Linked DNA regions of Homo sapiens: regions 1, 2, 3, 4, 5 and 7 are each linked to region 6. Evidence: promoter capture Hi-C in 16 types of primary human blood cells and fetal thymus (Javierre and others, 2016). All regions are on one chromosome and are shown on one strand. The core of a region is centred on a gene start or on the middle of the fragment in contact, and the rest is flanking DNA. Distances in the headings are between cores, read along the strand shown.

Evidence for each region. The method cuts DNA at HindIII sites, captures the fragments that hold promoters and counts their contacts. A CHiCAGO score of 5 or more calls a contact.
Region 1: a fragment that was not itself captured here is called in contact with the fragment with the promoter of IDNK in region 6 in 1 of 17 cell types (neutrophils); the score reaches 6.2 in neutrophils.
Region 2: a fragment that was not itself captured here is called in contact with the fragment with the promoter of IDNK in region 6 in 5 of 17 cell types (megakaryocytes, M0 macrophages, M1 macrophages and 2 more); the score reaches 9.5 in megakaryocytes.
Region 3: a contact is called between a fragment that was not itself captured here and the fragment with the promoter of IDNK in region 6, in 1 of 17 cell types (megakaryocytes). The highest score is 6.3, in megakaryocytes.
Region 4: a fragment that was not itself captured here is called in contact with the fragment with the promoter of IDNK in region 6 in 2 of 17 cell types (M2 macrophages and M0 macrophages); the score reaches 6.7 in M2 macrophages.
Region 5: a contact is called between a fragment that was not itself captured here and the fragment with the promoter of IDNK in region 6, in 1 of 17 cell types (total CD8 T cells). The highest score is 6.1, in total CD8 T cells.
Region 7: a contact is called between the fragment with the promoter of FRMD3-AS1 here and the fragment with the promoter of IDNK in region 6, in 1 of 17 cell types (monocytes). The highest score is 5.7, in monocytes.

The regions. Positions count from the first base shown.
Region 1 is chr9:83,289,544-83,292,779 of GRCh38, reverse strand. It overlaps FRMD3 (FERM domain containing 3), which reads left to right. Exons shown (of 14, transcript NM_174938.6): 13 at 2,053-2,177. LOC124902190 (a long non-coding RNA gene) reads right to left here. Exons shown (of 3, transcript XR_007061614.1): 3 at 2,913-3,236. Among named protein-coding and RNA genes, the nearest start is that of FRMD3-AS1, 72 kb to the right of the region's middle. The HindIII fragment of the contact is 1,669 bases long and covers 653-2,321 here.
Region 2 is chr9:83,200,628-83,203,778 of GRCh38, reverse strand. It overlaps a transcript of RASEF not described here and the pseudogene RN7SKP242. Among named protein-coding and RNA genes, the nearest start is that of FRMD3-AS1, 17 kb to the left of the region's middle. The HindIII fragment of the contact is 211 bases long and covers 1,355-1,565 here.
Region 3 is chr9:83,270,922-83,274,052 of GRCh38, reverse strand. The region is part of intron 13 of FRMD3 (FERM domain containing 3); the gene reads left to right. LOC124902190 (a long non-coding RNA gene) reads right to left here and starts at 212. Exons shown (of 3, transcript XR_007061614.1): 1 at 97-212. The HindIII fragment of the contact is 3,911 bases long and covers 1-3,131 here.
Region 4 is chr9:83,235,226-83,238,582 of GRCh38, reverse strand. All of the region lies in intron 2 of FRMD3-AS1 (FRMD3 antisense RNA 1), which reads right to left. Among named protein-coding and RNA genes, the nearest start is that of FRMD3-AS1, 18 kb to the right of the region's middle. The HindIII fragment of the contact is 4,774 bases long and covers 1-3,357 here.
Region 5 is chr9:84,013,053-84,016,385 of GRCh38, reverse strand. No RefSeq gene overlaps it. Among named protein-coding and RNA genes, the nearest start is that of RMI1, 34 kb to the right of the region's middle. The HindIII fragment of the contact is 356 bases long and covers 1,121-1,476 here.
Region 6 is chr9:83,621,243-83,624,717 of GRCh38, reverse strand. IDNK (IDNK gluconokinase) reads right to left here and starts at 1,575. Exons shown (of 5, transcript NM_001001551.4): 1 at 1,497-1,575. The coding sequence starts at 1,546. RefSeq lists enhancers at 971-1,020, 1,041-1,170 and a silencer at 1,351-1,880. The HindIII fragment of the contact is 10,566 bases long and covers 1-2,956 here.
Region 7 is chr9:83,217,923-83,220,921 of GRCh38, reverse strand. It overlaps FRMD3-AS1 (FRMD3 antisense RNA 1), which reads right to left and starts at 1,577. Exons shown (of 3, transcript NR_184120.1): 1 at 1,545-1,577. It also overlaps a transcript of RASEF not described here. The HindIII fragment of the contact is 11,674 bases long and covers 1-2,999 here.

The DNA.
Region 1 (3,236 bases), core at 238-2,737, 330 kb after region 6:
GCTACTCGGGAGGCTGAGGGAGGAGAATCACTTGAACCCAGGAGGTGGAGGTTGTAGTGAGCCGAGATCGTACCACTGCACTCCAGCCTAGGCGACAGAGTGAGACTCCGTCTCAAAAAAATAAAAAATAAAAAATACAAAGTTGGGGGTAGTTATGAAATAAAGTAGTGATCAAGACTGGGACTTAAAATGAACTAGAATTTTAAAATAGTGGATTATACATAGATATGTAACTATTGTTCCATAAGACATTAATTTCAGTTGTGCTTCTTCCTGTGTGTGTTTGGGTACAGGGAGATTATATAAAATGTGTTTCTTGGGGCTGGGCGTAGTGGCTCAAGCCTGTAATCCCAGCATTTTGGGAGGCCGAGATGGGCAGATCATGAGGTCAGAAGATGAAGACCATCATCCTGGTTAACACAGTGAACCCCGTCTCTACTAAAAATACAAAAATTTAGCTGGGTGTGGTGGCACACACCTGTAATCCCAGCTACTCGCGAGGCTGAGGCAGGAGAATTGCTTGAACCCAGGAGGCAGAGGTTGCAGTGAGCCGAGATTGCACCACTGCACTCCAGCCTAGGTGACAGAGCGAGACTCTGTCTCAAAAAAAAAAAAAAAGTATTTATTAATGTAGGTCTCAGACCAGAAAGCTTAAAAATTATGGTTCTAGACAGTGAGTTACTTAAGGTGAGGACTACAGTTCTCTGGAGCAAAGCAGAATGTCCAATTTGTATATATCAGCTGCAGAGTAAATGGCTGTAAAATGAAATAATGAAGAAAAGGACTCCATGGCTAAGCAAGTCCTCATAAATTTCCTTTCTAGCCCATGCCAGCCATGGGAGCTTTTAATTCAAGATGGTAGCAGGCATCTTGCTGTTCCCCACTCCTGCTGCCCAACAGAAACACTCAGGCTAGAAGGTAGTCCTGCAGCCGGTCTAGGGAACACTCTGACCAGGCTGAAATGGCAACATATGTCAAGCCAGGATTGCATTTGGTGCACTTTAGTTTCAAACCTGAACACATTTTCACAAGATGCCAAGTGAGATGCACAAGTATGGCTGGCTCAGTCTCTGCCCTTAAGGTGCTTATCTAGGTGGGGATGATCAGTACACCAATAACTAGACAGAGACAGAGGTGAAAATGCAGTGAGTTATGAAAGAAGAGAAAGTAGTCAAAGAGAGGGAGAGGAAGGGAGAGAGAGAGAGAGAGAGACTGTGTGCATTGGGAGGAGCAATCTGGGAAGGCTTCCAGGGGAAGGAAACATTTGACTCCTTTTTAAAGTATGCACTGGTTTTGGTTTTGACAGGAAGCATGGGGAGTGAGGAAGGGTGTGCAAACATCCACCTGCAGGCAGACTAGGGCAAGCAGCTAGTATCTCTGCAGCAGGTAGGGCAAGCGGGCTCCCCAGCTCCCAACCAATAGGCTTAATGAGATACCTGCACAGTTTCCTTGCCATCTGTTGCTAGTCTCAGCCAGACACACCTGCATGCTCCTTTCCAGAGGAGAAAACAGAGCCATGGCCAGTTAGTGAGTAGGGTGTAACTTTGAGAATATTAAACACTGATATTAAACATTGGACATCCAGCAACACAAAGATAGCTTATAGCTGTAGAACATCTGCATCATCTATCTGGCAGGGGTTTTTGTTTTTGTTTGTTGGTGGTTGTTAAATTTCTCTGAGCCATGCCCTTCATTCACTTTTCTACATATCTAGTTCAGTGCTAGCTACCTCCCATGTCTTTTTGTTTCTTCTTTCTTTTTTTTTAAAAAACGCCCAGGCTGTCACCTAGCATGCTCAGGGCTGGTGATGTATTGGGAACTGTATTTTCTTTCGTTGAGTTGCAGTAGAACATAGGGACATTTGGTCAGGACCTTAAGAGCAGAAAGGGCCATTTATCTTGAATGTTACGTCATCTTTACTACTGGCTCAATTCACTGTGTCTGGAGGTAGTTCCCTGTAGACACAAAATGGTAGCTTGGGCAGCCCGCTGAGATGGAGGGGCCAGCATTTGTGATGGAAACCAACTCTGTCTGGCTTGTGTCTGTTTTCAGAGCCAACATTACTCAGAGCCGCAGTTCCCACTCCTTGAACAAACAGCTCATCATTAACATGGAACCCCTGCAGCCCCTGCTTCCTTCCCCCAGCGAGCAAGAAGAAGAACTTCCTCTGGGTGAGGGTAAGTCTGTCTCTTCATCCCAAATGCTGGTGCTGCAGGCTTCCTCTGGAAAAAACAAGGGAGGCGCCAATTCTGCATATGATGGGTAATTGATTAGTGTATGGGGTGGAGTGGGCCATAAACTATGTTTTTAGTAAATAAGCTTTTTGCAGCTGGAAGGCTGTATTATACTGGGAGCTCTATTAGTTTCTCTTGGAGAGACTTCACTGGTATAAAGTATTTCTAAAATTATATATGAAAAGACTAATGGTGTTAGACCTACACCAGTCCAGTACACTAACCATTAGCCATGTGTGGCTGTATTAAACTAAGTTTAAATTCATTGTAATTAAAAATCCATTTCCTCAGTCACAATAGCCAGATTCTCAGTGCTCAATAGCCACATGTGGCTGGTGGCTGCCATATTGGACACTGAGACTGAGATAATTTCCTCTATCACTGAAACTTCTATTGGATGTTGATGTCTGCCACTGTAATCACAATTAAATTGGTGGCAATAAAGAGTTCTCCACAAGTATCTCTACACTCGTCATCCCATTTATTCCCCCAGGCTTCTTGTTCTTGATCCTTCATTTACATTGTCCAACAGTTTTGATACAAGCTAAAAAAAAGTGAAGTGTCCACTGCAACCCCCACATTTGTTATATTTTTAAAGATAATAATAATATGTGTGTTTCTAGGCATCTTTGTTTTTAAGGACTCTCCTTACTTCAGGGAAGAATCTCACCACAATGCTTGCTGCAAACACCTGCAGACATCTCACATTTTATTAATTTCAAAGATTTGTTTAAATTAAGTTGATGAAATTAATTAAATTGAAAACAAATGCACACAAAATAAACTTATTGGAACCTTTGAATACAAACATGCTTTTTCTTAACTTTGTGATTCTGGTTTCATCGTTGAAAATCTGGATACTGGGCAGTTTCAAGAGGGCAGATCACTCTGTCCCCAAAAGATCACCTTCACCTCCAGCTTCAAGTCAAGAATTTATTTCACAGGAGAAAACTTCTTAGTCTATAATAAGGATATGGCTTGGAATGCAGATACCCTTGAGAT
Region 2 (3,151 bases), core at 211-2,710, 420 kb after region 6:
TGCTGTTCCTCCTGACTGGAGTGCCCACCCATAGCCAGCTCCTCACTTACTTAAGTGATACTCACTCTTCAGATCTGAAATTTAGGACCCCAAGAGAGACCCCCACCGTACCACCTTCAGAACAGACCTGGTCTACTTACCTATTTTCTCTCAAGGCATCCTATTTTCACTTTCAACGAACTTACCTAAAATGTAATGGAATAGGCCAGGTGTGGTGGCTCATGCCTGTAATCCCAGCACTTTGGGTGGCTGAAATTGATGAATCACTTGAGATCAAGAGTTTGAGACCAGCCTGGCCAACATGATGAAACCCCGTCTCTACTAAAAATACAAAAATTAGCCAGGTATTGTGGTGAGTGCCTGTAATCCCAGCTGTTTGGGAGGCTGAGGCAGGAGAATTGCTTGAACCTGGGAGGCGTAGGTAGCAGTGAGCCAAGATGGCGCCACTGCACTGCAGCCCGGGTGACAGAATGAGAGTCCATCTCAAAAAAAGAAAAAAAAAAAGGACTGAAATAGAACATAAGGAGGGTCTACAAGGGCAAGACCAAGTCTGTCTAACTCACTAAGAGCTAGAAGTACTCAATATTTATTTAATAAATAAATGTAAAAATAAATGTAAATTTTGTAGGAACCCACACTAATTTTTAATGGATTGCTGTCGATCGTCTATTGATTATATATATGGGGCATATAATATCTATATATATAGATTCCATATATACAATAACTTCCATTTTGCTAGCTTTAACAATTAACAGTTGGGTCCATATAAGAGAATAATCTAAATATGTACATCTTTTTCTTTTAAGTACTGCTGTCCATTTACTTATTGTTAATTGACAAGTAAAAATTATATATATTATGGTGTACAACATGACGTTTTGATGTATGTATACCAGTAGAATGGCCAAATCAAGCTATTTAACATATGTAGTGCCTCACATACTTATCTTTTCTGTGGTGAGAACACTTAAAATCTAATTTCTTGGCTGGGTGTGGTGGCTCAAGCCTGTAATCCCAGCACTTTGCGAGGTGGGAGGATCACCTGAGGTGAGGAGTTTGAGACCAGCCTGGCCAACATGGCAAGACCCCATCTCTACTAAAAATTAAAACAAACAAACAAACAAACAAAAAAACAAGCCAAGCATAGTGGCGGGCACCTGTAATCCTAGCTACTGGGAAGGCTGAGGCAGGAGAATTGCTTGAATCTGAGAGGCTGAATCTGCAGTGAGCTGAGATCAAGCCATTGCACTCCAGCCTGGGCAACGGAGTGAGACTCCACCTCAAAAAAAAAATACTGCTTTCTTTTAATGCCATTTCTTGTTAAATTCATTTTAAAGTGCATTGGAAAGCTTTCTATCATTACAATGTGTGTTAGTTGTAGTTAAATATTAGCTTGACAATTGTTTTTCATTATGAATATTCATTATTTATAGTTCTGTTTTCTCTTTTGTTATCATTGTCTATTACATCTCTGAGTCATTGCAGCTGCTTGACTCATGTCTTTTAGCCAATTTTCCTTTTAAGCTGCATAGATATAGAAATTAATTAAACATACTTAAGCTTATGTGTTAAATAATAGTTAATAAGGCTTTGAATGAGAACTTAAGGAGCAAAGTGCATGTTGCTATGATGGGTGGTTTTTCTTTTTTTTTTGGACAGGAAGTAGGATTTATTGGTGGGCATTAGGAGGGAGCAGCACATGGGGAGCCCTCATGAGTGCAGGGCCTGCCACTTGTCCAGAGGGCCATAACTGGAGATGTATTTGACCCCATAGCCATCTGGGATGAGCCACTTCTCAGTCACCATGTTTTCAAATCATCTGCATGATGCAGTGTTATGTTAGCATTTTCATCTGTGTCCTGATCTGGCTTCTCGGTGCTTGAAGGAGTCAGACTTAGGAGTCTGATAATCTGGGAAGGGAGATATTATTGTATATATTCATGCCCTTAGGAGCTAAAACATTTAAAACAAAATGCTAAACTACTTGAGAATAGAACTGAAGAGACAACAAACCAAGCATGAAATCCTGCTGAGCATTTTTCCTTACTTACATATTCCAAGCATGAAATCATGCCAAGCACTATTCCTTACCTACATATTAAGTAAAATTAGATCCCAGGCAAGTAACTAATTTGTAGTGAGGAGTAGAGAAATAGAAAAAAGTCCCATTAATATTTACATTGAGTCCAACTGCTATATTGGTCCACGTGATAATACATGTTTCACTCCAAAAACATTTCTTACAATTATATTTTTTAAAAATTCTGAAATAGCACTAGATTGGTTAAGTAGTTGCCTCCAGAATCCACTTACTATTTGGGAGTGTCTCCTCCATTACCAAGGCCTCTTCCAAGAGAATATCCGAACTCTGGCATCCTCTACGTCCAAGGCATAATTCAAAATTATTTCAGCAAAACATGATGATAGGAATATGCTTTCCCCACTGCTAAGAACCCTGGATGGGCTTTTGCTTGTCATTCTCCAGCACCTTTTTGGTTGAAGGCCGAATGCAGTGGGCTGTGTGGAGGAGAACTGTGTTCCAGACAGGGACACATGGACAGTCTGGCTGTGACTTCTGTTCTGCCATCAACAGCCAGGGTACAGCAGCCTGGTCTGACTTGCTAGGCAGGTGTCCTTCTTCCACAGCTTCTCCAGGATTCTCCCAAACCTATATCATTGGGTGGGGTGGATGGCCTTTCTAGGAAGAGGAAAGCCCTCTTGCCTTCACAAGTCTACATTAGCTGCATTTCTCTGTTAGATCCTTTGATCAAACTCACTCCAGATATTGAAAGTCTTTATGTACAAAATCCTGGTCTATGGGTCTATGACCCTTTAAGAGAAGGGAGATGCTCTGGAGTGCTTGGACTCATCTTTGGAGCAAAGTCAGCTGGAGGTCATGTCCAGACTGGCAGCCTCAATGCAGCATTGTTTCCTTGGTAATCTGAGTAAATCCCAGCTCTTTTCTCACTTCAGGGAACCACAACATAGGCTATGACTTAACTAATTCATGTAGCAAGCTCACTGAGGCCCTGCTATGAGCTGACATTGCTTTAGAACCTGGGGATACAGCAGTGAACACAACAGACAAAATCACCTCTTCCTTCCTGGAGCTTACATTCCAGTGGAGTGAGACAAAAATGATGATGAC
Region 3 (3,131 bases), core at 156-2,655, 350 kb after region 6:
GGCTAGGAGTTCAAGACCAGCCTGAGAAACCTAGTGAGATGCCGTCTCTATAAAAAAATGTAAAAAAATTATCCAAATTTGATGGCGTGTACTTACAGTCCTAGCTGCTTGGCAGGCTGAGGCAGGAGGATCACTTTGAAGCCCAGGAGGTCGAGGCTGCAGTGAGCTATGGATGGGCCACTGAACTCCAGCCTGGGTGACAGAGCAAGACCCTGTCTCAAAAAAAAGAAAAGAAAACACCAAGTGACTTTTTTGTATTTTTGTTCTAATTTTATTTTAAAGTGCATTTAAATGTTATCCTATTGGAGCAGAATATGATAATTTTAGACACTTTGTGCATAAATCTTAGTCAATTTCTTGGAGGGGGTGAGGAACTGTATGCATTCTTTGTAACAGGAGCAGTAACTTTTTTTTTTTTCCCCAGGTTTTTTTTTTTTTTTTTTAGTATTTATTGATCGGATTTGGCAGGGTCATAGGACAATAGTGGAGGGAAGGTCAGCAGATAAACAAGTGAACAAGGGTCTCTGGTTTTCCTAGGCAGAGGACCCTGCGGCCTTCCGCAGTGTTTGTGTCCCTGGGTACTTGAGATTAGGGAGTGCTGATGACTCTTAACCAGTATGCTGCCTTCAAGCATCTGTTTAACAAAGCACATCTTGCACCGCCCTTAATCCATTTAACCCTGAGTGGACACAGCACATGTTTCAGAGAGCACGGGGTTGGGGGTAAGGTTATAGATTAACAGCATCCCAAGGCAGAAGAAATTTTCTTAGTACAGAACAAAATGGAGTCTCCCATGTCTACTTCTTTCTACACAGACACAGCAACAATCTGATTTCTCTATCTTTTCCCCACATTTCCCCCTTTTCTATTCGACAAAACCACCATCGTCATCATGGCCCGTTCTCAATGAGCTGTTGGGTACACCTCCCAGATGGGGTGGCAGCCGGGCAGAGGGGCTCCTCACTTCCCAGAAGGGGTGGCCGGGCAGAGGCGCCCCCCCCCACCTCCCGGACGGGGCAGCTGGCTGGGTGGGGGCTGCCCCCCACCTCCCTCCCGGACGGGGCGGCTGCCGGGCGGAGATGCTCCTCACTTCCCAGACGGGGCGGCTGCCGGGCGGAGGGGCTCCTCACTTCTCAGACGGGGCGGCTGCCGGGCGGAGGGGCTCCTCACTTCTCGGACGGGGTGGCCGGGCAGAGACGCTCCTCACCTCCCAGATGGGGTCGTGGCCGGGCAGAGGCGCTCCTCACATCCCAGACGGGGCGGCGGGGCAGAGGCACTCCCCACATCTCAGATGATGGGCGGCCGGGCAGAGACGCTCCTCACTTCCTAGATGGGATGGCGGCCGGGAAGAGGCGCTCCTCACTTCCCAGACTGGGCAGCCGGGCAGAGGCGCTCCTCACTTACCAGACTGGGCAGCCGGGCAGAGGCGCTCCTCACTTCCCAGACTGGGCGGCCGGGCAGAGGGGCTCCTGACATCCCAGACGATGGGCGGCCAGGCAGAGATGCTCCTCACTTCCCAGAGGGGGTGGCGGCCGGGCAGAAGCTGCAATCTCGGCACTTTGGGAGGCCAAGGCAGGCGGCTGGGAGGTGGAGGTTGTAGCGAGCGGGGATCACGCCACTGCACTCCAGCCTGGGCAACATTGAGCACTGAGTGAACGAGACTCCGTCTGCAATCCCGGCACCTCGGGAGGCCAAGGCTGGCAGATCACTTGGGGTTAGGAGCTGGAGACCAGCCCGGCCAACACAGCGAAACCCCGTCTCCACCAAAAAAAAAAACGAAAACCAGTCAGGCGTGGCGGCGCCCGCCTGCAATCCCAGGCACTGGGCAGGCTGAGGCAGGAGAATCAGGCAGGGAGGTTGCAGTGAGCCAAGATGGCGGCAGTACAGTCCAGCTTCAGCTAGGCATCAGAGGGAGACCGTGGAGAGAGAGGGAGACAGAGGAGAGAGAGGGAGACAGAGATGGAGGGAGAGGGGGAGGGGGAGGGAGAGGGAGAGCAGGAGCAGTGACTTAACAAGAGCAACTATCTTGAGTCACAATCATGCTTGTTGGCTTTCCTTACCTAAGTTAACCGACTGCTTTGAATGATGTGCTCTTTTCCGTTTATAAATAAGTTGGAGAGTCAGGAAAATACAAGGAAGTAAGTCATGATAAGGAGGTCTTAGAGCTACTGAGAACAGTGGTGTTGAAGAATGCCCAGCTGTGCTGCTTGAACTATACTTTGTCTGCAACTGTATTCTCCAGAGGATTTTTATTGACCTTTCCCCAGACTCTACAAGGTGATGCTGGGCCCCAGAGAGCAGTTATCTCAGCTTACAGGCAGGAAACATTCAGTCTGATATGGGAAATCATAAGAGGAACAGTGTCTAATATGCCAAAGCATCTTATGCATTTCCAGGGTTTTGTTCATGTAAGTTATCATAATTTGACACTCATGACCATTTCTTTGAATTGGATAGAACAGATACTGTTGTCTCACTTTCCAAACAAGGAAATTAAGTTATACAAATGGTTGATTACCTGGCCATATGGTCCTTTCTCTCAGTCTCTCAGTGATGTTGGGAACAGCTTCCCTTTCTTTTTACTGTATACCCAAGAATATACCCCTCCTATCATAAATATATTATTAAAATTATTGTTTATATGTTTTATTAATACAATCTTTAAAAAGTCCTCTGAAGTATATGTTAGTCCCAAGGACTCTTTTTAATGGATACTTAATGTCTAACCTGATTACAAAGAACATTTAATGAATGTAATAATAATTTATTATCTTTCCACTTGGAGCTAGCAGTTAGCTAAAATTTCAGTGAATCTCTCAAACTATTTTAACTAATGGCTGACTCCACTATACTTGTCAAGTCTGTTGGTTTCTAATGTAGATAAATTGCATGATATTGATGATGATATAATTATAGTTAGTATTTATTAAATGCCTATTCCATGTCAGGAACCCAGTCATGTAAACACCCAGTATCCTCACCATTTTGCAGATAGAAAATTGCATTCAGCAGGCTTCTGTAGGTTTCCCAAGGTAATAGGCATGGCCGGGTTAACTCCTCACAACCAGCAATACTGCTACTATTGGGGAGGAGTAACTCGTAATAGTATGTTAAGACATATGGTTGACAGA
Region 4 (3,357 bases), core at 201-2,700, 390 kb after region 6:
AGATGACAAGACAATTCTAAGGGGAAAGAATAGTCTTTTCAACAACTGATATCTAACAGCAAAATCATAAAATTGGACCAATTTCTCACACTGTATACACAAATTAGCACAAAATAAATCAGAGACCTTGTGTTTAATAAAATTTACAAAACTTTTAGAAGAAACATAAGATCAGATCTTTGTAACCTTTGATTAGAGAGGATGGTTTCTAAGGACAGCAAAAGCACTAGAGACAAAATAAAAAATAGGTAAATTAGATAGTAATAGATAAATTTAAAAACTTTTGTGCTTTAAAAGACACTGTCAAGAAAAGTGAAAAGACAAAACACTGAAGGGATGAAAATATTTTTAAATCATACATCCGATAATGAATTTGTACCCATAATACATAAAGAATACTTACAACTCAGTAATAAAAAACATAACCAATTTTTAAAGTAGGAAATGTTATCACAATAGACATTTTGGTAAAGGAAATATGCAAATGGATAGTAAGCACACGAAAAGATGTCCAATATCATTAGTCATTAAAGAAATGCAAATCAGTGCCACATTGAGATTCTACTTTACACCCACAAGAATGGCTATAATAAAAAGACAGGCCACGAAGTGTTGCTGAGGATGTGGATAAATTGAAACCCTCATATATTCCTGGTAAAAATGTAAAATTGTGCAGCTACTAGGCTGGGCGCGGTGGCTCACACCTGTAATTCCAGCACTTTGGGAGGCCGAGGCGGGCAGATCACGAGGTCAGGAGATCGAGATCATCCTGGCTAACACGGTGAAACCCCGTCTCTACTAAAAATACAAAAAATTAGCCGGGCGCTGTGGCGGGCGCCTGTAGTCCCAGCTACTCCGGAGGCTGAGGCAGGAGAATGGCGTGAACCCGGGAGGCAGAGCTTGCAGTGAGCCGAGATCGCGCCACTGCACTCCAACCTGGGCGAAAGAGCGGGACTCCGTCTAAAAAAAAAAAAAATTGTGCAGCTACTTTGGAAAACAGTTTCGTAGTTCTTCAAAAAGTTAAGCATAAGGTTACCATACAAGCCAGCAATTCCACTCTTAGGTATATACTCAAGAGAACAGAAAACATATATTTACACAAAAAAATGGGTAATTTTCATAGCAGCACTTTGCATAATAGCACAGAAGTGGAAACAACCCGTATGTCCATCGGTTCGTAAATTGCATAAACAAATGTAGTGTATCCATTCCATAAAAATGAATGAAGTATTGGTACACGCTACACCATGGATGAACTTTGAAAACATTATGCTAAGTAAAAGAAGCCAAAAGCAAAAGGCCATCTATTGCATGATTTGATTTATATAAAATGTCCAGAATAGGCAAATCTATAGAGACAGAAAGTAGATTAGTGATTTCCACGGGTAGGGAGAATGAAGAATGACTGCTAATAGGTACAGAGTTTCTTTTTTGGGTGATAAAATTTTTCTTTGAATTATGTAGTTGCGATGGTCGCATGACTCTGTGAACAAAGACCAATGAATTTTATGCATTATTTATGGTATGTTAATTATAGCTCAACAAAGCTGTTAGCAAAAATTATATTTGTTGTGGTTCACTATGTTATTTTTTAACATATTTTGTGAGGAGTACGAGTTGAGTAGCTTTATTATAACCAAGAACCTTTCCATTTCTATTTGTCAGCAAGTTTTGTCAGTACTTAATTCTATCAAAATGAAAAATAGATAATGCTGAACCCAGTTTCATTTTAGCGATAAGTAATATTTGTGCATAAAGATTAAATAATTTGATTTATACCATTGATATTTACTTCTAATAAATTTTTAACTTTTGTTCAATAGTTACTTAAGCTATTATGAAATAACTATTAATATTTTCTTATGAACTATGAATATTAATATTTTAATAGATTCTACAAAAACTATTAAAAACAAAAATTTTAATTTTTTTACACAAAATAATTTTGTGCATCATTATTAGTGCTTCTGTAAAAATGACAAAAGGCCAGAGTATAAAATTGCTGCCTAGGAGATACTGATATAAAGATAGAAGTAGCTGGCATATCTGGAACAGAAAGTCGGTGTAATATGATGGCTAAGAGCTCAGGCTCTCCAGCCAGATGGCCTCAGCTCTGGTCTCAGCTTTCCTGCTCTTCTTAGGTGTAACTTTAGGTAACTCATTTGATCTCTTGAATTCTTGGCATCCTCATCTTTAAAATTATGTTTAACTACAGCACTTATCTCAGAGCTGTTATGGAATTTAAAAATAAGTTAGAATTTGCAAATCCCTTAGCAAAGTCTTGGACATGTAGTAACTACTTGAGAAATGCTAGGAGTTAAGGCCCATAATCTGGCACCTCCAGGTCATTCTAGACTCATCGTAACCATTTCACTCTTTGAGGACATCCTGTTCTACTGAAGTAATAGCATCATGGTGGCAATGCATAACAAAATTGGATTTGGAAGTTTCAGAAGATATAACAAGAACCAGAATTTGCTTCTAAAAAACATCTATTTTTCTTCTACATTTATTTATAAACAAAACATCTCGTTGCCTATAACGTGGATACACATCCAAAATAGTAAGACATCAGAAAATAGAATACATCAAAATTCCTTTCAGGAGGAAACTGTGTTTGTAAGAAAGAAATGTTTTTTTCTAAGTTGTTCAAAGTAGGGAGTATATTGCAAATGTATAGTCAAGTTACAAATGCAAGGTCTCCTGATTTCTTTCTCTGCGTGACTTTCTTTTTTCTGGTCCTCTGTCCTGTGCTATTTACCTTTTGATAAATGTTCGATGTGGAAGTTGATTCTCAGAACCCTTGGCACAATAGCCTTGGTTACCCACATCCATTTCAAGAGCTCCTAACAGTTTGGAAACACTGGATCTTGCTTTGGGTGCAGTTGAATCTTCAACCCCTGTGGTGAGACCTATTTCTATGTAGATTAGAAAGAAACAATGATAGCACAGTGATTGCAAAGATGAAGAAACAGGATTTGAATTCATTTAATTTCACCATTCAGTGTGACTCAATCACAATTTAAAAATTTTTTAATTTAAAATTTAAAATGTTTGCCAACTATGAAGTGTAATATTTTTGTTTTATAAGTGCAAATTTTATTTCATACATATTTTCTGAATATGATAACATTTTAAAATTGCAATGTATTCTTTTTAATTGTTAATTATTTGTCTTCAAACAAAAGAACAAATAAGAAAACAAAATCTCACATTAGTAATTGCCTAAATTAGGTCGGGCGCAGTGGCTCATGCCTGTAATCCCAGCACTTTTGGAGGCCGAGGTGGGAGCATGGCTTGAGCTCAGGAGTTTGAGATCAGCCTGCGCATCATAGCAAGAGTCCATCTCATTTAAAA
Region 5 (3,333 bases), core at 49-2,548, 390 kb before region 6:
CAACCAAGAGGAGAGTAAGGAGACATGACAACTAAAGGTAATATAGTATCCTGGATGGGATCCTGGAAGAGAAACACATTAGGTAAAACCTACATACAATATAGACTTTGGTTAATAATGTAACAATATTGGATCATCAGTTGTAACAAATGTACCATACTAATGCAAGATGTTAATAATAGAGCAAACTGGGAGTAGAGTATATAAGAACTCTCTACTATCATCTCAAATTTTCTGCAAATCTAAAAAGGCTTTTTTTTTACAGGAGGTATCTAGAAAAGTAAGAGATGCAAGAGATTTGATATTGTCCTTAAGAAGTTGGAAGAACTTAAGGATGAGAAAAAGGTGTGAATACCCCCAAAATGGACAGCAAATAACACCCCCCATCACCCAAAAAAATCTCTACAAAAAGACTGGTAATGCCAATATACTACACATAACAACCTGTGCAATCACCAATATTTAAATAGTTGTAATAATGTGATCACTGCTTGACGTTTAACCTTTAGAATAAGCTTATAGAGGAAACAGATGTCATAAATCAGATTAATTAATAGAATGCAAACTTATTCAGTCTGATAATGTTGAAGTATGAGGAGACATTAAGCATAAAGAAAAGTTAGGAGTACTAATTAGACTATTTTGTAATATGAGTAGTCAGGAGAAATGGCCTATAGTTGTAATAAGAAATCAAAGTGTAAGTTCACCATTTCATGGTTTTGTTTGTTTATTTGTTTGTTTGTTTTTGAGACAGAGTCTCGCTCTGTCGGCCAGGCTAGAGTGCAGTGGCACGATCTCGGCTCACTGCAACCTGTTTCCTGGGCTCAAGCAATTCTGTCTCAGCCTCCCAAGTAGCTGGGATTACAGGCGTGTGCCACCACACCCGGCTAATTTTGTATTTTTAGTAGAGACGGGGTTTCACCATGTTGGCCAGGCTGCTCTCAAACTCCTGACCCCAGGTAGTCCGCCTGCCACGGCCTCCCAAAGTGTTGGGATTACAGGCACGAGCCACTGCACCCGGCCCATCATTTCATGTTTTAATAATAGCCAATAAAGAAAACCAAAAAGAGTTTTGTAATGGATGGAAAAAAGAGATGCAGGAATCAAGTGAGTTAAAGCTTTATCAGAGCTAACTTGACAGGTAGAAGTCTAAATAATGGAAATTCCCGTATTATTTAAAGAATGAGGACAATCAATAGATACACTAAAAACAGACCTTAATAGGCAACATCGGTCTCCCTGGGGAGCAGAATAGGAGTGGGACGTGGGAAACAGTGAAAAAGAGGATTGCTACTTTTTATCATGGTCTTTCTATACTATGTAATTTTGCGATTATGTTTATGTATTGCTTTGATAAAAGGATTTTAACTTTCTAAAGAAACATTCTTTGTAAAGCATTTAGCACAGTGTCTAACACTCAGCAAGGAGCTCACAACCTTGGCAAAAATTCTTGGATCCATGCATGGCACAAAAGCTTCAAATCCTACTTTGGTAAAAAACAGTAAACAGAAAACAAAGAACGCCATTTCTCTACTCACATCCCATTTCTAGCACCAATTCTAGAGTGTTTTTCCAACACCAACAACGAATTCTCTGATTCTCTGGACACAAACTGGGTGTCCAATAATTCAACTCAATACTGAATTCAATTCAATTCAATACTAACTACCTGGAGTTAAAGCAGACCCCACAGGTTAAGAGCTCAGTCTCACAAGACTGCTCCCCACATCCAAGTCCAGGCCACCTGTACTTATGACCAACTGGGTATAAATCAGGGGATCCCACAAGCCACTCCTTGGGTTCAATAATTTATTAGAACATCTCATAAAACTCAGAAAAACAATACTTAAATTTACAAGTTTATTATAAAGCAAACAATTCAGTGAAGGAGGGGTCAGAGCTTCCATGCCCTCTCCAGCTGTGCTACCCTCCCAGCACTTTGATGTATTCACCTGGAGGCTCATCAAATCTAATTATTCAAGTTTGTATACAGAGGTGAGTGGGTGGGGCAGAAAGTTTCCACCTTCTAATTACTTGGACTTTCTGGTAACCAACTTGATCCTGAGGCCTTTTTGGGGCCCCACCCTAAGTCGCTTCATTAGCATAAACTCAGATGTATTCAAGAGAGGCTCCTTGTGAACAAAAAGGACACTTATGTGAGTTATTTTACAACTCTATTAATTGTAGATAACTGATAGCAATACAAAACAACTCTTGCCTTGTTCATAGTTTTTTAAAACTTTTGTAGAAATGGGGTCTCACTATGTTGCCCAGGCTGCTCTCCAACTCCTGGCTTCAAGCAATTCTCCTGCCTTGGCATCTCAAAGTGCTGGGATTACCCATTTGAGCCACTGTACCCGGCCTTCTCTTTGGCTCATGTCTGTAATCCCAATACTTTGGGAGGCCAAGGTGAGAGGATTGCTTTACGACCAGCTTGGCACAGGGAGACCCCATCTCTACAAAAAGTAAAAATAAATTAGCCAGGTGTGGTGGTGTGTGCCTGTAGTCCCAGCTACTCAGGAAGCTGAGGTGGGAGGATTGCTTGAGCCCAGGAATTGGAGGCCGCAGTGAGTTATGATTATGAGTTATGATTGTATCACTGCACTCCAGCCTGGGCAACAGAGTGAAATCCCATCTCCAAAAAATATATTAAATACATAAATTTAATTAATTAAAGAAAGAAGAGAAATAATCCCATATTAGGCCTTTTATCAGCCAGTGTGATGGTACCAAGTAGGATGGAAGTAATAGTAGGAGAGACAGACGCAGAATTTCTAAATGGTTTGTTTTGGTTCTGCTTCATCAGTTAATTCAGAATTGTTGGTATAAACTTGTCCTTACATAACAGATAAAAGTATTTGCCTTTGGTGCTGAGTAGTGCATTTCAATTAGCTAGTGACTATGAATTATAATATTAATTCTGTGGAACAGTTTATGTAAAGTAGTGTTATTCTTAATACTTTGGAAGAATTCAGTGGGGAAGTCATGAAAGCTGGGAATTTGTGGGAAGTCTTTAAATCATAGATTCTATTTTTAATTCTTAAATTTTAGAAATATATTAAATCACACACCATAAAAATCACCGCTTTAAAGTAAACAATTGAGTGGGTTTTTTTTGTACACTCACAAAGTTATGCAACCATCACCACTATCTAACTCTAGAACACTTAAATCATCCCAAAAAGGAACTCCGTATCCATATCCATATCCATTTGCACAGGAGTCCTCAACCCCCAGGCCACAGACCGGTAGTGGGCCATGGCCCTTTAGGAACCCAGCAGCACAGCAGGAGGTGAAAGGTGGGAGAGCAAGCATTACCACCTGAGCTCCACC
Region 6 (3,475 bases), core at 326-2,825:
CAAAAAAAAAACAAAAGAAGCTAAGCCTCAGAACCATTGCACCTGCCATTCCCTCTGCCTGTCCTGCCCTTTCCTCAGCTATCCACATGGCAGGTTCCTCAAGTCTTGCAGGTCTTTGCTGAAACGCCACTCCCCCAGAGGAGACATCCCTGACCACTCTGCCTGGCACTCTTTGTTCCCCTTACTCCAGAGCATCTATCACCAACTCACACACTACATATATTCATTTACTCTGTCTCCCATACCAGAATGTAAATCCTTTGAGGGCAGGGATTTTATCTGTCCTGTTCGCTATATGACAATGACATAGAGTAAGGATTGAGCTCAATAATTACTGAGTACATGAATATCACAAGCTATACATCATAGGGATTAGGCCTCCCTCATCTGATTCAAGACTCAGAGGGGGTACATGAACTGCCCAGGCTCACACAGCCAGACAGCAACAGAACCAAGACCTAGGGCTCTTCACTCCTGTTACATCACACCATGGCAATGATTTTACATTCTCCAACTGATTCAAATCATATGGCAGCTAGGGATTTGGGGGCTCCATGTTTTATTTCAATTGCAGTTCAAGATTTCTTTTTATCTTTGTGGCTGAGAACCCTACAATAATTTTGGAAAGCAAAACCCATCTACCTGGAGTAAATCTTTAATATACACCTGACTACACAGGCCACAACATGGGCCGTTCCTGATTCAGAAAATTCTAGAAGGGTCCTATAGGCCCTTGAAGGTTATGATGTTTTAGCTGATCAAGTTCTGTCCTTTGCTGCCTGTGGTCGAATGGTACAGCAGCTGTCTTTTCTGATAAAGGGCACAGTTAGACTTTGGTTTAAACAGGAAGCCAAATGTTAACTCCTCAGTCTCCAGGTTAGCACACTGGGCTACCTCTGTGGTTTCCACAATTCTCTTCTTTCTTTCCAAACCCTCAGGAGCCACCCTCCATATTAACGCTGTCTCCTTCCAGGTTAAGCTGATGAAAGGAAGGGGAAAACGATTCACTTTCCAAAATTGAATCGGAGAAGTCCAGGGCCTCATAGGAGGAGGCCGCTGTGTGTCCAGATGGCCAAAGGTCTGTGAGAGCCTGGGCCGTGGTTTGCGTCCTCTCGCTAGAGGCCGTGCGCCCTCCCGCCTGGCCCCGACAAGGCGCCCCGAAACCTAGCCCCGCGCCGCTCGCTAGGCCTCCACCTGCGCGGCCCCGCAGCCGCCTGTTCAGGAGCGGCTTCCTCCCTGAGCCTGCGGTCGCCGCAGCCTCCCCGTCTTAGAGCGGGAACCCGGAGCTCGGATGCGGTCCCAGGATGGGCGCCCCGCGAGCAGGCTGGAGGGCGGGGAGAGGGCGCGGCAGCCGCGGGCCTCGGTTTCTTCATCTGCAAAGGGAAGGGTGGGGGGTCCCCAAGACCCCAGTCCACCGGCAGGGACGGCGACGCGTCCGGCCTCCGCCGCGCCCGCAACACTTGTCCCGGGCGCCCCCCGCCCTCTCCCGGACCTACTTCCCCGAGCCGCTCACGCCCATCACCAGCAGCGCGCCCGGCGCCGCCATAACCCAAGCTCGGCTCCTTCCCGTCGCCTTCCGGGCCCCGCCGGCCCCGGCCTACCCGGCGCTCGAGGGGCGGAGCCGCTCTCGCCCCGGCCGGGGCAGTGAGGGCCGTGCCCCTCTGCGCCCTCCCCGTTTTCCCGCGCCCCTTTTCCATGCTTTCCTCCTCCCTTTCCCAACCTCCCGGCCTCTCTCTCCTGCCCCTTCTTTTCCTCTCCCCTCCCCTCCCTCTTTCCTCTTCCCGGAAGTGAAGCGCGCGCCCGGCCTGGCACTCGCGTCTCCCTGGGCTGGAGGGAGCCGCCCAAAGCCCCGCCACCTGTCGTTCTACTGCCCCGGCCCCTCTTGGTTCCAGAGGATCCTCACCCTGGCAGGCCGGATCCTCATCCACCCATGGAAAGCATTCATTCATTCATTTATAAAAATGTTCTTGTAAAAAGAATAAACAGAAAATAAGACTCATAATTTCCCACACCAGGCAGCAATAAGCAGCACTTCCTAAAACGACTCCCCTTTCCCCGCGCCCCGTCGTAGATAGATGGGTATGAGTATTTTGTAAAACTGGGATCAGGCCGTACACAGCGTTTTGTAATCTGGCCTTTTGTCACAATAATAAATGGCGGCCATCTTTTGGTGTCAAACTTAGGGTTGAGTGTTGACCGTAGCAGCATATGTCTTGGCTGTATGGCTCTGCTGTTAAATCCAGCACTGGTTGGGGCTTTAAGAGGAAGGAGCACCACTTTAAAGTGTCCATTTGCTTTAAAACAATGTTAATTATGTGTCGTTTGAACTATTTGATTAAAAGCACTTCTTTTTTTTTTTGAGACGGAGTCTCGCTCTGTCGCCCAGGTGGGACTGCGGACTGCAGTGGCGCAATCTCGGCTCACTGCAAGCTCCGCTTCCCGGGTTCACGCCATTCTCCTGCCTCAGCCTCCCGAGTAGCTGGGACTACAGGCGCCCGCCACCGCGCCCGGCTAATTTTTTTTGTATTTTTAGTAGAGACGGGGTTTCACCTTGTTAGCCAGGATGGTCTCGATCTCCTGACCTCATGATCCACCCGCCTCGGCCTCCCAAAGTGATTAAAAGCACTTCTAACCGCATTTGGCATCACCTCCTTTGGTCTTTTGTTAACCAAGGTAGGTATTACTCTGTGTCCTAGAAAACAATAAAAGTGACATAAAAGCATTTATCTAATGAATAGTTCAATTACCCCTGCACTGCCTTTGTTTTTCATATACTTAGCCCGAGTAGGTGAGATTTCAATCTGGATGGGGGCTGTACAGGTGAAGAAATTGAGGCTTGGAGAGAGGTCTTACAATTCAGTTATGGTCAATACACATTTCTTGAACATCTACCATGTGCTGGTTAATATCATATTAATATTCATTTAAAAGATTACCCTCTAGGCATTCTCAAGCTTGATAAGAGGAATAGATGTGTATGCAAATACTCTTAACTCGTGCCCTGCTTCGCTAGCTCAGTATGAAAAAAAAAAGCTCATATTTCTTTCAATGTTCAAATCAGAATGATTAGCAGAAAATCTGATTCTTCTCCTTGGATTTCTTTCCCCAGACATGTCCAAGGATCTTAAACTTGCTGTGCTGCTCAGGGTGGTGGCAGGAAACAGCATGCTCAAATTGGGGCAGGTGAACAGGATTTAACAAAGGGACTATTAGCACAGGTGTGGGTAGGGTCAGAAAAAGCAACTAGGGGCAGAGTCCACATCTGAGTAACCGAGAAGTGTTTTCACTCTTAAATAGAAAGGGGCTGATGAGAGGGAGCCTTTATATGGGAAGGGAAGAGAATGGAAGGAGAGAGACAGAGAGAATAGACCATATAGAAAGAAGTGTCTGACAGGACTGTAGCCTTAGGAAGAGAGAGATAGACATTCCTTGTTGACCCAGCAGAAAAATAATCAGGAGAATAAATAACCTCCCC
Region 7 (2,999 bases), core at 328-2,827, 400 kb after region 6:
CATAACTACAGCTCTGACTGGACAAGAGACTGATTTCAGTAACTTTCTTCTAAGAGACCACAGACCGGTTCTGGCTGATTCATAGAGGCTGAGCGTTGATTACTTTCATGTCCCTGCTTCACCTTTTAATGTGTGTGGCCTAAATTTGACTGTATCTTAATGTTGTCTCCACCCCAAAGTGAACATGTGTTGTATGTTACATACATGTTCATTCTGTGCATATGTATTGACTCATAAATATTCATAAGATTCTCCTATAACCTACTGAATATGTATGTATAGCTAATTTCCTTGGGCATAAATCTCAACCTCTCCCTTTTATCCTCTGAAGTGCCTGCTATTGGTCTCTGCCAGAGGCTAGCTTCTACCTGTCATGATGGCCACCCTGCAAGCTGCAACTCGTTATAAGAAATAAAGTCTCCTCTCCAAATTTAAGATCTCATGATTTTAAGCTGACAATGCCTATACATGAAATAACAGAAGTCAGACCTATAAACAGGTTATCAAAATAAGGTACAGTAAATGCATGAGGTACTAGAGACCCATAGATTATCCCACTCTATTGAGCTGAGCGTCCCGTAAACCTCTAAGACAGGCTATGCAGATACGACAGGTCCTGATTTTATAGTCATTGAAGCTATGGCGATCCCCATTAGCGCAGAAGCGAGTCCTCTCTCACCACCACGCTGCCTCCTGAAGGTGGTCAGGTGAGGCTCATAGTTACTCAGTGTGCAGCCAAGGCTAACGCTTGGCTCCATCAATCCTGAAGTCCCACCTGATTGCCCAATGAAAGATAAAGCTCGGGGGGGCTGAGAAATAATACACGTGAACTGAAGGGCAGTGTAATGTTCCCCTCAAGGGGAACATTATTGCTTTACAAGCGTGGATTCTTTGTTCTGAACCCTAACTGTAAACTAGGAATTGGGGCTGAGAGCTTCTTCCATTTACAGCCCTAGGCTCTGCTCTGCATCCAAGCTCCGCTTCCTAGAAGTGCTGCTTATATTATTAACCAGGCTGCAGCCGGAATTAGCCAGAAACCACACTGTCGGCTCTGCTTTGCGGAAGGAATAGGAGCGAAGGACGAGGCTGCCCCCCAGTGGGAAACCCACAAGAAGCAGCGACGCTTCCAATCAGCTCACAACTTTCAGTATTGCAAGGAGAGGAATGGGCTCCGCATTTCCAGCTCCAAGCACTCCATTTCAGAGCCGCTGGGGAGGATTTTGGGGTGCAAATTCTTTTACCATTACGGGGTAGTGGTATGGCGTTGAGAAATAAGAATAGGCGAACCTCGTATCTACCAATCTCCCAACTCTATAAACGGCCCCTGGTTAAATCCAGATTCCGGATCCTGGCTGGGAGATTTTGATTTAGCAGGGCAGGAGTGGGAAACTAGGGAGGGTTTGGGTTTTAAATCAGCGTAATTCTGATCATCTGGCAAATTTGAATATTCTGCGCTGGGAGGCGACTTTCTGCTTCACTTTCCCAGAACCCGGGCAGGGGTCAAGCCCTTGCGAGTCAAGGGAACCCAGGAGTTGCTCTCTTACCTTTGTATTCCCGCAGCCTCCAACTGCAACTCCGGCGTCGCCCGGGCAGCCCGACCCAGCCAACCTGCCCAGGATCCGCCCATCCGCCGCGATTTCCATGGCGACCGATGGCGCCGCCTTCCGCAGCCTTAGGGCGGGGTAAGCGGGGGACCTAACTCTCTGTCCAGGCACTCAGTGCCCGACCTGCAAGTGGGGACGGAATTCTCGTCCAGGACAGTCAGGCTAAGAAGTAACTTTTATTATTATTATTATTTATTACTTTGAGTACTTCTTGCGCCCATTATTAAAAATTAAGTGTTTCTTTTTTGTTTTTGTTTGGTTCGGTGGGTAGAATATATGTGACATGTTTTTCTAGGATTTTCTTCTTAACATTTTATCTTCAGATTCAAATGCTTTGGACAGACTCACCGACTGCCCGGCTGAGAGAATCTGTGAGGTCTACCTGCCTAGCAATTTGCCTTTGCACGGTCCTCCTGTGAGGAGTGAGGACACACAGGTATGTGGCTTCTGTAAATGTCCACGCTGGGATAGTTCCCAGACCGTCGACTTTCTGTCCCTTTCTTGACTGTCCAGTCTCACCTTTCTCTCAAACACTGCTGCTTCAGCCGAATCCAGATGTGGGAGGCCAGGTTCTCAGGTGGCCTGGTGGGAATGCAAGGGCGGTGCTCTCAGAAACATCTGGGGGCGAGCTTGCCACTCAGAAGCAGGGAAAACTGTTTCAGCTTTCTTTATGAGAGAGACACACCTGGCTGGAGGTGCTGGTTTTTCTGCTTGACAACCCTGAGGCCTGGGCATACCTCAGAGGTGCTTCAGGTAGCTTGGTCAGCATGTTTCAGCTAGTCAGGTCCTACCCCCACGGTCTGTGGGCTTTTAGTTTTGGAGTGGGTATGATGGAGTCCTAGGACCCTGGATGACCTCACATTCAGGGTGCTTTCTTGGGGGCAGTTTGGCTGTTCAAGCTGGCTGGAGGCCAAATGGAAATCTAGACATCTCAGAAAACTGGTTGATATGCTGGGTTAGTGAGGATGAGGGAGGGGAGTGTTGTTTTACTTTTCACAGTAACCCAAAAGAGTTACCATCTATTACTATCTCCATTTTGTAGAAGAGGAAAGGGAGGCGCAGAGAATTTCAGAAACTCCCAGGATCTGGCTTCCACGTGCACACTTGGTACTTTGAATTTAGCTTAATTTTCTTTTTCCCTAATGGAGTGTTTATTCATGCTACCTTTCACCCACTCCTATTAATCTAGCCAAATTCATTCACTCATTTATCAGTAAGCTGTTTCATTTCTGCCCCCTCCCCTGTCACTGTAGTTCCACAGGACCAGAGACAACCACATGTGTTTTATGAAGTTATGTATCTGGCATGCAATTAGGCTCCAAGGAAAGTTTGATGAATGGATAAAGAGCAAAAGACAGTGAGTGCCTCAGAGTTTTTGCATTTATTGGATAAATT